Linked DNA regions of Homo sapiens: all the other regions are linked to region 1. Evidence: promoter capture Hi-C in 16 types of primary human blood cells and fetal thymus (Javierre and others, 2016). All regions are on one chromosome and are shown on one strand. Each heading gives the region's core, a stretch centred on a gene start or on the middle of the fragment in contact. The rest is flanking DNA. Distances are from core to core; before and after follow the strand shown.

The links. Contacts are between HindIII fragments. The CHiCAGO score rates a contact against its expected background, and 5 or more counts as called.
Region 2: a contact is called between the fragment with the promoter of KRT6A here and the fragment with the promoter of KRT76 in region 1, in 2 of 17 cell types (total CD4 T cells and neutrophils). The highest score is 6.1, in total CD4 T cells.
Region 3: the fragment with the promoter of KRT6B here is called in contact with the fragment with the promoter of KRT76 in region 1 in 5 of 17 cell types (total CD8 T cells, megakaryocytes, endothelial precursors and 2 more); the score reaches 8.3 in total CD8 T cells.

Annotation. Positions count from the first base shown.
Region 1 is chr12:52,775,950-52,780,534 of GRCh38, reverse strand. KRT76 (keratin 76) reads left to right here and starts at 3,190. Exons shown (of 9, transcript NM_015848.4): 1 at 3,190-3,843. The coding sequence starts at 3,244. The HindIII fragment of the contact is 4,392 bases long and covers 109-4,500 here.
Region 2 is chr12:52,491,633-52,496,174 of GRCh38, reverse strand. KRT6A (keratin 6A) reads left to right here and starts at 2,918. Exons shown (of 9, transcript NM_005554.4): 1 at 2,918-3,526; 2 at 4,439-4,542. The coding sequence starts at 2,987. The HindIII fragment of the contact is 6,361 bases long and covers 641-4,542 here.
Region 3 is chr12:52,449,549-52,454,447 of GRCh38, reverse strand. It overlaps KRT6B (keratin 6B), which reads left to right and starts at 2,302. Exons shown (of 9, transcript NM_005555.4): 1 at 2,302-2,909; 2 at 3,828-4,042; 3 at 4,376-4,436; 4 at 4,595-4,690; 5 at 4,815-4,899. The coding sequence starts at 2,370. The HindIII fragment of the contact is 8,192 bases long and covers 1,319-4,899 here.

The DNA of each region.
Region 1 (4,585 bases), core at 1,941-4,440:
GACTACCAGAGAGCAATTTGGTTAGAGGGAATAACTCCTTGGTTTTAGTGCCCCCAATTTTATAGGTGGGGAAATAAAAATCCAGGGTGCTCAGCCATCTGGCAAGCTTTACACAGAATGTTCTGGCAGTGAGGGATTGGAACTCAGATTGCTGGCAGTAGGCAGACCCTTTAGATACTGTTCTGAAAGATCCTACAGTGAATGAGGGCAATGTTGGTGAGGATAGCAACTCTGGGTATTTCCAGCAGCTCCATTCAACTGCTGAGAAGACAATCCCCATCTGCTAAATAAGGTGATGCTTTGGCAGGCTCATGCGACATGGATTAGGCGACCCAGCCCAAACCCGCGCTTTTGTGATCTGTGCATCACCTTTCTCCACCACGCTTCTCCAGCCTAGGCCAGGGTGGCAGAGGTGAGCCACACATCAGAGGCTGCCACCCACCACCTCAGTACTGCAGCCAAGGGAGGGAAGGGAATCAGAGACATTTATGTCTGTTCTTGTTTGCTTCGGACTCTCACCTGGAGCTTCAGCTGAGCCTGGCTCAGCTTTCTTTCCAGGAAGAGCATGTGATCTTCTGCTTTTAAAGGATCCAGAGGATATGAGGAAAGACCTTACCAGGAGGGGCTGTCATTCAATTGATGGGTGGAGTATAAATGTCTCATGGAAGAACTCAACATGAAATCCTCTTCCTGGATTATCTGTGGATGAATGATGTTAATTTAAAAATCCAAACATATATTGCTGAATACTATGTATTTAAATTTCAAAACAATCCTGCAAGTAGGATCAATGCCACCTTTTAAAAATAAGGAGAGAGAGAAGTCAAGTACCTTGTCCAAGGTCACCACATAGTGAGAGGTAGACATAGGATTTGAACCCAGGTCTTTGGAATTCCATGATGATGACAGGTTTTCTGTTATACCACAGCTATCTTACTCCTGTGTGGAATTTTGTGATTTTCAAAGGACTTTCACTTACATTATCCTGCAAGTCTCACCACAAACCAGTAAGGTAGGAAAGTGTTTGGCAGATTAGAACACAGACTTACGTTAAATCGTGGCACAAGGTCACCCAACCCAACCCTAGTCAGTATAAGTCTCAGTCTTTTCTATCCCAAGTTGGGTTTCTAATTCTTCACTCCTATTCAGCCTCCTTTCCTCACCTTTGGTGAGCTTCTTAGGGATGCAAAGTTGTCTTGAGAACAGCCAGGGCCAAACATGTTATTGCTTCTCCATTCCCCCAAATAGAGTACTGGCAAGTAGCTAAACATATAGTGCTTGCTATGTGTCAAGCACTGGGCTAAGCATTTTATATTTACTTAACTTGTTTAATGCTCACAACAACCCCATAAAGTACTTGCCATTCTTAGCCCCATTTTACAATTGATAAAGCAGACACATAAAAGTTAAGTAACTTGTCCAAGGCCTAAAAGTTGGTGGATAGTGGATCTGGGATCTGACGCCAGATAAGCTGCAGAGCAGAGAGCTGAGAATTAGCTGCAAAGCTCTTGAAGTCACTCAACTCAAGGTGGTTCCAAGGTTCTCAGACCAATTCTCTCCCCTAGACTGGACTGTTCAGAAACCAGAAACTCAGAAAGACAGAGCGCCCACTGCCAGTTTGGCTGGAATTCTGGAGATAGACCCCCCACCAATTTCTCAGGGAGTCTAGAATCAGTGCCACCTGCTCCTGTCATATGTGTGAAATCTCCTATGCAGACGACAACCTGAGGATTTGGTCTTGCCCTGTGTGGTGTGTTTGGGTGCGGAGGTGGGTTGGATGGGGTTTGGGGTCTGCTGAGCTCTTGGCAGTGACAGCAGTAACTCATCATGTGTCATTCGTTCTGCCATCAGGGGTCCTCCATCCTCCTATTCCTGGCCCATATGGTGTAGCCATGGTCTAGACCAGGGTTTCCCAGACTTTCCGCATTATAAGAATGACCTGGAGGGCTTGTTAAAAATGCAAACTCTCAACCCTTTCCTCTGAAGATTTTCATTCATAGGGCTGGGGTGGGAGCTGGTTTTAGGTATTTGCATTCTTAGACATCAGTCATCAGTCAGTTAACACGTTTGTGCTGTGCTTACCCTATGCTAGGAGCTGGACATTTAGGATAATTTAGAATGGGCAGGACTCAAGCCTTGCCCTCAAGAAGCTCAGGGACCGGAGGGGTATGGACAAGTAAGCAGGTAAGTATACTTTATGTCAGGTTCACGATGGGAAAAGTACAGGGTATGGTGGGAAGACAAGGAGGGGCATCTGACCCAGACCAGGGGGTAAAGCAGGGAGGGGATCCCCTCCAGAAGATCTGAGTTGGGGCCTAGACACAAGATACACTGTCCTCCTAAGATGAATGGGGTGCTTGAGCCGACTCTACCAGCCAGCTGGAGGGTTACCAGATTCTGTCTCCTCTTGCTTCTGGGTCCAGAAATTGCCTGCTGTCAGTCTAGGATGGTGGGGGGAGGGCTTGGTCTGAGGCTCTCCACAGTGCATGCCCCCTCTTCTTCCCAAACCTCATACTTGTTTGCTCCCTGTTCCAGGAGCTAGACGTGTTTACCTCCACTGTAATTTCTTCCCCATAAGTAGCATTTCTCAGCCCAAACTCCAGGTTTGCTGAGATGGATGCCTTTGGCTGAGGTGCTGGCAGAGCAGACTCTATGGGTCTGGGCCCCTCTCACTTCCGCTCCCACTCCAGGCCCTCTGAAGAGTTGGGAACAGGTGACATGCCACTGGAAGAAAAGGCCTAATGATGGCAGAGACGGGCGCAGCCACTGTGGGAGCCTGTGGACACTGTGGTGCTGCAGGGAGGGACCCAGCCCACTCAGAAGAGGTTGCCTGGTCCTCACCCCCCTGTGTCAGGGAGCTCATGGCTCCGGATCACCTGGTGTCTAAAGCTGCTTCCTCCTGCTGGATCAGGTGCTGCTTGGGTTCCCTGAAACCCTTGAGGACAGCACAAAAAGGGAGGGAGGAGAGCTCCAGCATTTTGTCAACTGAGGCAAGTTTAGGTGATTAAGCTAAGAAAGCAAAGCCACTCTGGCCCAGAGGATTATCTCTGAGGTGTGTTGGGAACCAAGAAGTAACTTAATGCCTACGAGGCAAACCAAACCCAAGATGATTCTCAACTAATTGCTCGCCTCTCCTTTTGCCAAGCCAAACTCCCTGTTATATAAAGGCCAGTCTCCTCTCTTGTCCCTATCCCTCTCAGCTCTTGCTAAGTGATCACTAGCTTGCCTCCAAGCTCTCTCACTATGAACAGACAAGTTTGCAAGAAATCCTTCAGTGGCAGGAGCCAGGGTTTCTCTGGCCGCTCTGCTGTGGTCTCCGGCAGCAGCAGGATGAGCTGTGTGGCCCGCTCTGGGGGAGCTGGTGGAGGGGCCTGTGGCTTCAGGAGCGGAGCAGGCAGCTTTGGCAGTCGCAGCCTCTACAACCTGGGCAGCAACAAGAGCATCTCCATCAGCGTGGCAGCTGGCAGCTCCCGGGCTGGAGGCTTTGGGGGAGGGCGGAGCAGCTGTGGCTTTGCAGGTGGCTATGGAGGTGGCTTTGGGGGCAGCTATGGTGGTGGCTTTGGTGGTGGCAGAGGAGTAGGTAGTGGTTTTGGAGGGGCTGGTGGCTTTGGTGGAGCTGGTGGCTTTGGTGGTCCTGGTGTATTTGGTGGGCCTGGCAGCTTTGGTGGTCCTGGTGGCTTTGGCCCTGGGGGCTTTCCTGGGGGAATTCAGGAAGTGATTGTAAACCAGAGTCTCCTGCAGCCCCTCAATGTGGAGATCGACCCCCAGATTGGGCAAGTAAAGGCCCAGGAGCGGGAACAGATCAAGACCCTCAACAACAAGTTTGCCTCCTTCATCGACAAGGTGAGGGCAAGGCCAAGAGGTGCTGTGGAGGGTTTGGGGTGCCCAGGGGTCGGTGTAGAAAGATGCCATGGGGACTTGTGAGACACAGGGCAGGGGCGCTTGGCTCTTGTCCTGGTGCTGTCTTGGTCCCTACAGGACAGTGATCATGCCCCTTTCACTTTTTGGGCCTTCTTTTTCCAGCTGTGAAATGGGGGGAAGAATTCCTGGTCCTGGTTTCCTGCTAAGAATGAGATGAGGGTAAATGAAGTGGGGGTCCAAACATGCTCTTAGCTTTTTGAAGAATGAGCCATTTTAGTCATGAAATTATTGCAGTTACTTTAATTTCTCCTGAAAAGCAATTGCTTGATAATCCAAAGTAGCTGGTAATCAAAACCTTGTGTTAGCACAGATCTTGAGGCTGCATCTAAATGAGGTGCATTGGCAGCTGCCTTACCTTCCAGATGATGCTGTGCTTCAGCCAATAATTAAACTGAGCTGTCCATGCTGGGGCAGAGGAGGGTGTTCTGGGTCTGTGTGGGACTGAGCCCAGGATCTGAAGTGAATTCTAGTTCAGCTGCAAGCTGAATAACTGAAAGGAGGTCTTCCTATGTGAAACTTCTAAAGAAATGTTAGACCTCATTGACTGTATTCACTGCCTTTATGGAGCTGAAAAAAGCTTACATCTAAAAAACAATGACAAACTTTATTTGTGCTTACCTCCTTCAGTGGTATTCTGAAGGATCCCTATAGACCCAGGACAGTC
Region 2 (4,542 bases), core at 1,669-4,168, 280 kb after region 1:
TCCCCCTCCACTGTCTTAGAAGCCCTTCATCACCTCTCATGAGTCCTCCCAGCTGACCTCACTCTATGGGGTCACTGGACTTGGTTCCCAGAGCATGCCTGGCAGCTGGGAATGGGAATTTTTTTAAAAAACCTCTTAGTAGATATATAAGAGAATGTCATATAAATTTAGCAAAAGGAGATACACTGGTGTCAGGAAATTAAACATGGCACTTTATATTGCTGGTGCTGTCTGATGCACACACCAAGCCTAGATTGAATAAGATGTTGAAGTTAAACCATCCTCTGATAGACTAAATGAATTACATTACATATTTTATTCAGGGATGAGTTCACCCCCACACTTAAAAAGACAGGAACTCATTAGTGAAAAAGGAACTGATGCAGTTGGCACTGCTGGTTAATAGCAGCTGCCCCTGTGTGTGTACCCCAGAGAACAGCCTGAGACCCAGCAGAGGATGGGCAGGGGAACCTGACTCCATAAGAGGGAGAGCAGTCTTCTGGGCTCCTGCCAAGAACTCAGAGGTTGGATCCTCTCTCCAACCACCTTTCCTTCCAATCACTCAGACAACATGCTGCCTCCCCCACTGGGCGGAGCTCTGTCTGCCCCATGCTGCTGCTCAGCAGAGTGGCTGCAAGCTTGCAAATTGCTCTTCTGATCCTGTTGCTCTTCTGCCTTCTGCGGCTCTGTGTGGCATCTGGGAGCAGGGCAAACCTCTATACATGGCTTCCTAAGTCCTTACTAATGTGGCACAAGCCTGCAATGTTGGTTTCATTTCTCTTACCGGTCTCTGAACCACCCTCCTCCCCCACACACATACCCTGCACTTGTGTCCCTGTTCTTGACGCTTCTTGTGGGCCTCTACATACAAAATGTCTTCATACTTTCCTATGATAATATTAGCTTACCTTCGGTGAGAAATTATATGCCAGATGCCTTGCTAAGACCTTCAATTAATTATCTCACTGAAGCCTCACAATAGCACTTTGAGGCCGGTGCTATGTTCACTCCCAGTTTACAGGTGTAAAAACAAGGCACAAAGGGTTTAAGAAAGTGCAGAGGGACACCCAGGTGCTTGGTCATGAACCTGAGCCCTCTGTCTCCAAAGTCCATGCTCTTAACCAGGGGTTGGCAAATGTTTTCTTTAAAGGGACAAATAGTGACTATTTTAGGCTTTGCAGGGCATACAATCTCTGTTGTAACTACTCAGCTCTGTCTTTGTAGTGTGAAAGCAGCCGTGGACATTGGACATTGACACAGACATAGGACACTGGGTAAATGCATATAGCTCCCACCTGAATTGCCAACCCTTCTTACCCATCCTAGCATCATTCATGCCAAGCCTAAAGCCTCTATCCCAAGAGAGTAGAGTGGGTCGGAGCACATACCAGAAGGAACACTTCTTTCCCAGAACTGGGTGGAAGCACATTCTTGGTCAACCATTGTGCAACCAGGGTGGAGGGAGGGGAGCTGCTTCCGTTGTCTTGAGAAGGTATCTCGTTCTTGCCAGACGCTGAGTTAGCACCTCCTTTAGACAGGGAACACCCTGTTCTCCTGGATGCTGTGTCCCCCCCTCCAAATGTTGGAGAAATGGGACTGCTTTTAAAATAGTAACAAGAGCTTTCCTGAGGCTCTTCTTAGCATGGGAGTTTGTTCTTCCTCCTGCGGTTGCTCATTTATCCATAGGTTCTCACAGAACAATATTGCCCAGGATTGCTCTCCATTCTCCTCATGCACAGTGCTTAATGCATGGACTGGAGAAGTGAAGCTCATTCCTCTGTAAACCAAGCACACTCACCTTTGTCAGCCTGCCCACCCTCCCAGAAGGTGTATATGGATTTGAGATTTCAAGCACTGAGATCAGAAATTAAAATGTGGAATTGACATGTTACATCATCACACTTGTAAGGGCACAATTTTATGATTCACAGCTTCCATATGCCCCTTGACTTTCCCTACACACCCAATTAAACTGTCTGACTCTTGATTCTTAAGAAATGTCAAAATCTGTGGGAATAAAAATCCAGTGAATTCCTTAATGATTTTTATATCACTCATTTTCCGTTGTTTAAATTAAGCTCTATGTAAATGCTCCAAAACAGCAGGGAGAAGGTGTCTATAAATTTCAACTGGAAAGGCAGATTTACATGAGACTAAGCTCAATAGGAAAGCAAGCACTGGAGAGAGAGGTGCAGATATGGAAAGAAACTCCTGGCAGAAGTCAGGTCTCTGAGCACCCTGGGCAATGTCTGCTCCCTTCATTTTAGGTAAACGGCATGTGGGCAGGTGATCACACAGTACACAGAACAAATGTTGCTCCTACAGTGTAAAGACTCAACTCCTCTGTCCCTCTTGCCTGACAAAGGAGGGTTAGATCCCCAAAGCAGACCCCGTTCCTATGTCCAGGACACAAGGGAGGACAGCCAGGAGCTCCAGAAGAACTGGTCCAAATGCAGTGGAAAAAACACAACAGGCTACTTCTTGCTCAGGCCATCGGGCAAATGCCCATACGCCCTCAGGAAGGATCCCACTCAGAGGGTGAGGCTGGTGCAAGTGGAGTAGAAAACCTGTGTGGGAAGGGGGCACACAGGGAGTGTCTGATGAAGAAGAAGGAGGGGACAATTATCACAGATCAGCTCCTTGTCTCCTTTGTTTGAGGACATGACTAACTCATGACTTCAGTGAATGTATACCCGGGCTTATTGTGTTAGGATCAAGTCAAGGCTGGAAGGCAGGAGAATTTCTCTATGACTAAAGGAAGCCAAAAAGCAATCTTCATATTTCATACCTTTCTAGAAACTGGGTGTGATCTCACTGTTGGTAAAGCCCAGCCCTTCCCAACCTGCAAGCTCACCTTCCAGGACTGGGCCCAGCCCATGCTCTCCATATATAAGCTGCTGCCCCGAGCCTGATTCCTAGTCCTGCTTCTCTTCCCTCTCTCCTCCAGCCTCTCACACTCTCCTCAGCTCTCTCATCTCCTGGAACCATGGCCAGCACATCCACCACCATCAGGAGCCACAGCAGCAGCCGCCGGGGTTTCAGTGCCAACTCAGCCAGGCTCCCTGGGGTCAGCCGCTCTGGCTTCAGCAGCGTCTCCGTGTCCCGCTCCAGGGGCAGTGGTGGCCTGGGTGGTGCATGTGGAGGAGCTGGCTTTGGCAGCCGCAGTCTGTATGGCCTGGGGGGCTCCAAGAGGATCTCCATTGGAGGGGGCAGCTGTGCCATCAGTGGCGGCTATGGCAGCAGAGCCGGAGGCAGCTATGGCTTTGGTGGCGCCGGGAGTGGATTTGGTTTCGGTGGTGGAGCCGGCATTGGCTTTGGTCTGGGTGGTGGAGCCGGCCTTGCTGGTGGCTTTGGGGGCCCTGGCTTCCCTGTGTGCCCCCCTGGAGGCATCCAAGAGGTCACCGTCAACCAGAGTCTCCTGACTCCCCTCAACCTGCAAATCGATCCCACCATCCAGCGGGTGCGGGCTGAGGAGCGTGAACAGATCAAGACCCTCAACAACAAGTTTGCCTCCTTCATCGACAAGGTGAGCCAGTGCCATGCCCTCCATGGGGCACTTCAGGGTCCCCAGACCAGAGGAGCAACACCTTCCTGCCAGGGAGACCTAGGAGGGAGGGAGAAGAGGACTCAGCCCAGCTCTGCAGAGAGTGCAGATGGCTGCTGGTGCCCAGCAAGCAGCAGGGATGGGCATCACTCCCCCATGGGATCTCTGGAGTGGCCCTCACTCCTGCCTAGGGAGAACCATAACTTTTCATAACCCTGAAGCACAGATGAGGCCATCAGAGAATGGAGTAGGTTAACTCTTCCCTTTGAAGCGTCAAAGAAAATGCCAGGAGTACACGGGCTGGTAAATTACACTCTGGGGTCTGGATAAGAGGAAAAAATATTGGAAACAAAAGAAAGGATATTTTGGCTAGATTAAGAAAAAAAAGACTTAAAACGTTTATACGTTATGTGGAAATGTTAATTAATCCTCAAAACAAAGAATGACCATAACATCAGGATGTTTTAGAGGAGAGACTTGCACAAATGGGAAATAAGACGGGAATCAAATCATTGGGCAACATTTAACATCTCTTCTAACTGAGGTCCTATCAGTAATAAAAACTGTGTAAAATTTATCAGATGAATACTATTTTATAACTATGTTTGTAATTTTGGCTGGGAAAAGAAGGAAAAGACATGTTGAAACTCATTAATATGTCCAATAACTTAGAGAGTGAGAACACCTGAATGGTCCGTGGGACAATTCCTCTAGTGAGATTGGTGGGGTACAAAGGAGAAGGGGTTGGGGGAGCAGAGCTCAGCCTGAGCCTCTCTACATGCACTGTAGTAGCCCAGCACCATGGGAACCTCCCGGACCTGCCAGGAAACCGGATACCAGACACTTTTTCTTCCTTCCCTTGCCTGGAAAATGATCATCTTGTCTCTCTTTCAGGTGCGGTTCCTGGAGCAGCAGAACAAGGTTCTGGAAACAAAGTGGACCCTGCTGCAGGAGCAGGGCACCAAGACTGTGAGGCAGAACCTGGAGCCGTTGTTCGA
Region 3 (4,899 bases), core at 1,053-3,552, 330 kb after region 1:
AATACTTTCTACAAACCGCAGGTCCAGAGGGGGCTCATCTCATTAAAAATAAGCACTAGTCAGAAAGGAACCATGCCAGGACTCAGAAAAGGTCTGTGCATTCAAAATTGAAAAAAATAGGCAAAAAAAAAAAAAAGACTCATAAAAACTCTCAACAGAAAAAGGCACAATAAAATACTAAAAAATAAACACTATAAAGTGGGAAAAAGAAGACAAAATATAGTGAGACAGGTAAAAGATAAAATATTCATTTGTGGAGCACAGAAAAGGGGTAGAGATAACAACAAAGTCCTGCTTAGAAATGAAGGTCAAATTGGCCAGGTGCGGTGGCTCACGCCTGTAATCCCAGCACTTTGGGAGGCCAACGCGGGTGGATCACGAGGTCAGGAGTTCAAGATCAGCCCGGCCAACATGCTAAAACCCCATCTCTCCTAAAAATACAAAAATTAGCCGGGCATGGTGGCAGGTACCTGTAGTCCCAGCTACTTGGGAGGCTGAGGCATGAGAATCACTTGAACCTGGGAGGCGGAGGTTGCAGTGAGCCGAGATCATGCCATTGCACTCCAGCCTGGGTGACAGAGCAAGACTCTGTGTAAAAAAAAAAAAGAAAAGAAAAAAGAAATGAAGCCCAAATTGAAAGCGGCATAAGGAGGAAAGACATTGGTAAACAGACAGTAATGGACATTTGGGAGAAATGTCCTCGAATAACTGGGAAAAGCAAACAGCTATGAAAAAGAGACTAGAGACTGTTAAAAAGAGAATCAGAAAACATAGATGTGGGAGACAAAGCAGACACAACACAATCACAATTGAAAAAGACAATATTTTTATGTTTTGTACATATGAATACATGAAATATTTTATATACATAAAACACACTCAAACACATACACACAAAACATTCATGTATTTATTTATATACCTTTCTACAATGCAGGCTCCCTCTCTATATATGCCAACTCCCTCCACCTCTTCCTCACCCATACAAACACACGTTGACACAAACACATATGCACAGACATGTCACCCATGGCCCAGGAAAAGCACAGGAAAATATCCAAGTAAAGATACAAGGATACACAAGGAACTGCTAACATTACTTCCTCCATAGATAGGAATTGGGTAACTGGGGAATGGCCTTGAGCTATATTATTTTGTTGTTTAGCATGTTTTACAAAAAATTTTTTAAAACATGTATCATGTATTCAATTTGTAAACATGTAAATAATTGTGCAAATAGTACTATTCAAAATTTAAATGGGCAATCTACTACATTTACTTCTAGAATGTTTAAATATAGACAGAATCTTAATAAGCTTCTAATTTTAATATGAAATATGAAGGTTAGAGTCTCATATTAAAGGAAACAATAGGGGTATGCAATTAGAAAAATCCCAAGAATGAAAAAGTACAATGAACAGTTAACCTGTTTTATTTAACAAATAAAAGTAAGAAATGAAGGGAGATTTTTAAATTTCAATGATTTAAAGGATATATCACTCAAATACAACGTTTATAGAGCTTATTTTGACTCTGATTGGGACACCAAAATATAAGAAATATATATCAAAAATAGGACTGCTTGAAGACTAAATAGACACTTGTTCATTTTAATTAGTATGTAAATTTTTAAGATATAAAAATAGTGTTTTGATTTTTTAAAGGACCTATTATTTAGATATTAATATTGAATTATTGATTGAAGACATAATATGACTTCTGGAATTTCCTTTCAAACAATCTAGAATGGAAGAGGAAATAGGGTTGAAGTATGAAAGAAATCAGGCTGGCCATGAGATGATCATCATGGAAGCAGGTGACAGGTATATACAGGCCCATTGCAGTGTTCTGCTTCTCTACCTGTTTAAAATTGCACCTAAAAGGTGAAACAATTATGGGGAAATTGTAATATTTCTGTTAAGGAATTCACAATACAGTGCCTGTGATCTCCAACAGCAAGGCTGGAAGAAAGTCAGACTGGGAAGAGGAGGGCACTCAGGGCATGTCGATAAACAGCCTAGCATGCAGAACCTTTGCTGAAGACAGTGACTAATTCCAACTTCATGAATTGAGAATACTCTTATTGTGCTGAGATCTCAAGTCAAAGCTGGAGGCAGGAACATTTTGCCTGACTAAAGGAAGCGAAAAATGCAATCTCGGTATTTCATAACTTTTGTAATAATGCAGGTGTGATCTCACTATTTGTAAAGCCCAGCCCTTCCCAACCTGCAAGCTCACCTTCCAGGACTGGGCCCAGCCCATGCTCTCCATATATAAGCTGCTACTGGAGTCCGATTCCTCGTCCTGCTTCTCCTCCCTCTCGCCTCCAGCCTCTCACACTCTCCTAAGCCCTCTCATCTCCTGGAACCATGGCCAGCACATCCACCACCATCAGGAGCCACAGCAGCAGCCGCCGGGGTTTCAGTGCCAACTCAGCCAGGCTCCCTGGGGTCAGCCGCTCTGGCTTCAGCAGCATCTCCGTGTCCCGCTCCAGGGGCAGTGGTGGCCTGGGTGGCGCATGTGGAGGAGCTGGCTTTGGCAGCCGCAGTCTGTATGGCCTGGGGGGCTCCAAGAGGATCTCCATTGGAGGGGGCAGCTGTGCCATCAGTGGCGGCTATGGCAGCAGAGCCGGAGGCAGCTATGGCTTTGGTGGCGCCGGGAGTGGATTTGGTTTCGGTGGTGGAGCCGGCATTGGCTTTGGTCTGGGTGGTGGAGCCGGCCTTGCTGGTGGCTTTGGGGGCCCTGGCTTCCCTGTGTGCCCCCCTGGAGGCATCCAAGAGGTCACTGTCAACCAGAGTCTCCTGACTCCCCTCAACCTGCAAATTGACCCCGCCATCCAGCGGGTGCGGGCCGAGGAGCGTGAGCAGATCAAGACCCTCAACAACAAGTTTGCCTCCTTCATCGACAAGGTGAGCCAGTGCCATGCCCTCCATCGGGCACTTCAGGGTCCCCAGACCAGAAGAGCAACACCTTCCTGCCGGAGAGACCCTAGGAGGGAGGGAGAAGGGGACTCAGCCCAGCTCTGCAGAGAGTGCAGGTGGCTCTCGGTGCACAGGAGGCAGCACAGATGGGCATCACTCCCCCATGGGATATCTGGAGTGGCCCTCACTCCTGCCTAGGGAGAGCCATAACTTTTCATAACCCTGAAGCACAGATGAGGCCATCAGAGAGTGGAGTAGGTTAATTCTCCCCTCTGAAGTGTTTAAGAGATTACAAAGCAAATGCCAGGAGTATATGGGCTGGTAAATTACACTCTGGGGTCTGGGTAAGAGGAAAAAGATTTAGAAAGAAAAGGAAAAGATAATCTGGCTGGATTAAGAAAAAAAGGGACATAGAAACAACTGTAAAACATGGATAAATGCTAATTAATTTTAAAAACAGAGAATGACCATAACATCAGAATATTTGAGAGGAGACACTAAATGGGAAAGTAGACTGAAATGTAATCATGAGTCAACATCTAATATCCCTCCTAACTAAGATCCTCTCGGTAAAAAAAACTGTGTACAATATATCAGGTAATTAGTATTTTTAAACTAGATTTGTGATTGTGCTTGGAAAAAGAAAAGAAGAAATGTTGAAACTCACTGATGATCAATAGCTTACAGTGCGAGAACACCTCAGTGGTCCGTGGGACAATTTCTCTAGTGAGACTGGTGGGGTGCAAAGGAGAAGGAGTTGGGGGAGCAGAGCTCAGCCTGAGCCTCTCTACATGCACTGTAGTAGCCCAGCACCATGGGGACCTCCCAGACCTCCAGGAAACTGGATACCAGACACTTTCTCTGCCTTCCTTTTCCTGGAAAATGACCATTTTGCTTCCCCTCCAGGTGCGGTTCCTAGAGCAGCAGAACAAGGTTCTGGACACCAAGTGGACCCTGCTGCAGGAGCAGGGCACCAAGACTGTGAGGCAGAACCTGGAGCCGTTGTTCGAGCAGTACATCAACAACCTCAGGAGGCAGCTGGACAACATCGTGGGGGAACGGGGTCGTCTGGACTCGGAGCTGAGAAACATGCAGGACCTGGTGGAGGACCTCAAGAACAAGTGAGGACTCCATTTCCTGCAGCACACACTTCAAGACTATTGGGTGACCAGGGCCAGATGTGTGTAGGATTCCTAACAACCCATGTCCATGGAAATGAAAAGCACAAATTAGTCCCTAGGAGCAAACCTGCAAGAACCACAGATGGTTATGGGAGGATGGGGAGATTAAAGAAATGGCAAATTTAGTAGTAGCAAAATTCATCTCTTTGGCTCTCTGTGGCAGGAAAGCTCAATTAGAATATATTCCATTCAGGAAAATGTTGAATCCCAAGCTGCTTTTCTGTTTCATCCTACCCACTGGCTCAAATGTGTCCCATGCCTTTCTTCCTGTAGATATGAGGATGAAATCAACAAGCGCACAGCAGCAGAGAATGAATTTGTGACTCTGAAGAAGGTGAGCAGATGAAGCCAGGGGTTCAAATTCATTTAGAAGGAGAGAAGTGGCTCTGTGTCCTCGCTCCCCTGGGAGAGGAGAATTGGCAGGAGGACTAGAAGATGGGTAGATTGGAAAGGTGAGCTCAGGCAACTCCAGGTTGTTGGCTCTTTCCCCAGGATGTGGATGCTGCCTACATGAACAAGGTTGAACTGCAAGCCAAGGCAGACACTCTTACAGATGAGATCAACTTCCTGAGAGCCTTGTATGATGCAGTAAGCAACTCCACCATCCTTCTGTTTACTCTGATGGGGTCTGCAAAGGGGAGAAGATGTACAGGGCTGGGCATCTCTGTAAATGTCAGAAGTGAAGTTGATCTTATGACCTTCTGTTCTGCAGGAGCTGTCCCAGATGCAGACCCACATCTCAGACACATCCGTGGTGCTATCCATGGACAACAACCGCAACCTGGACCTGGACAGCA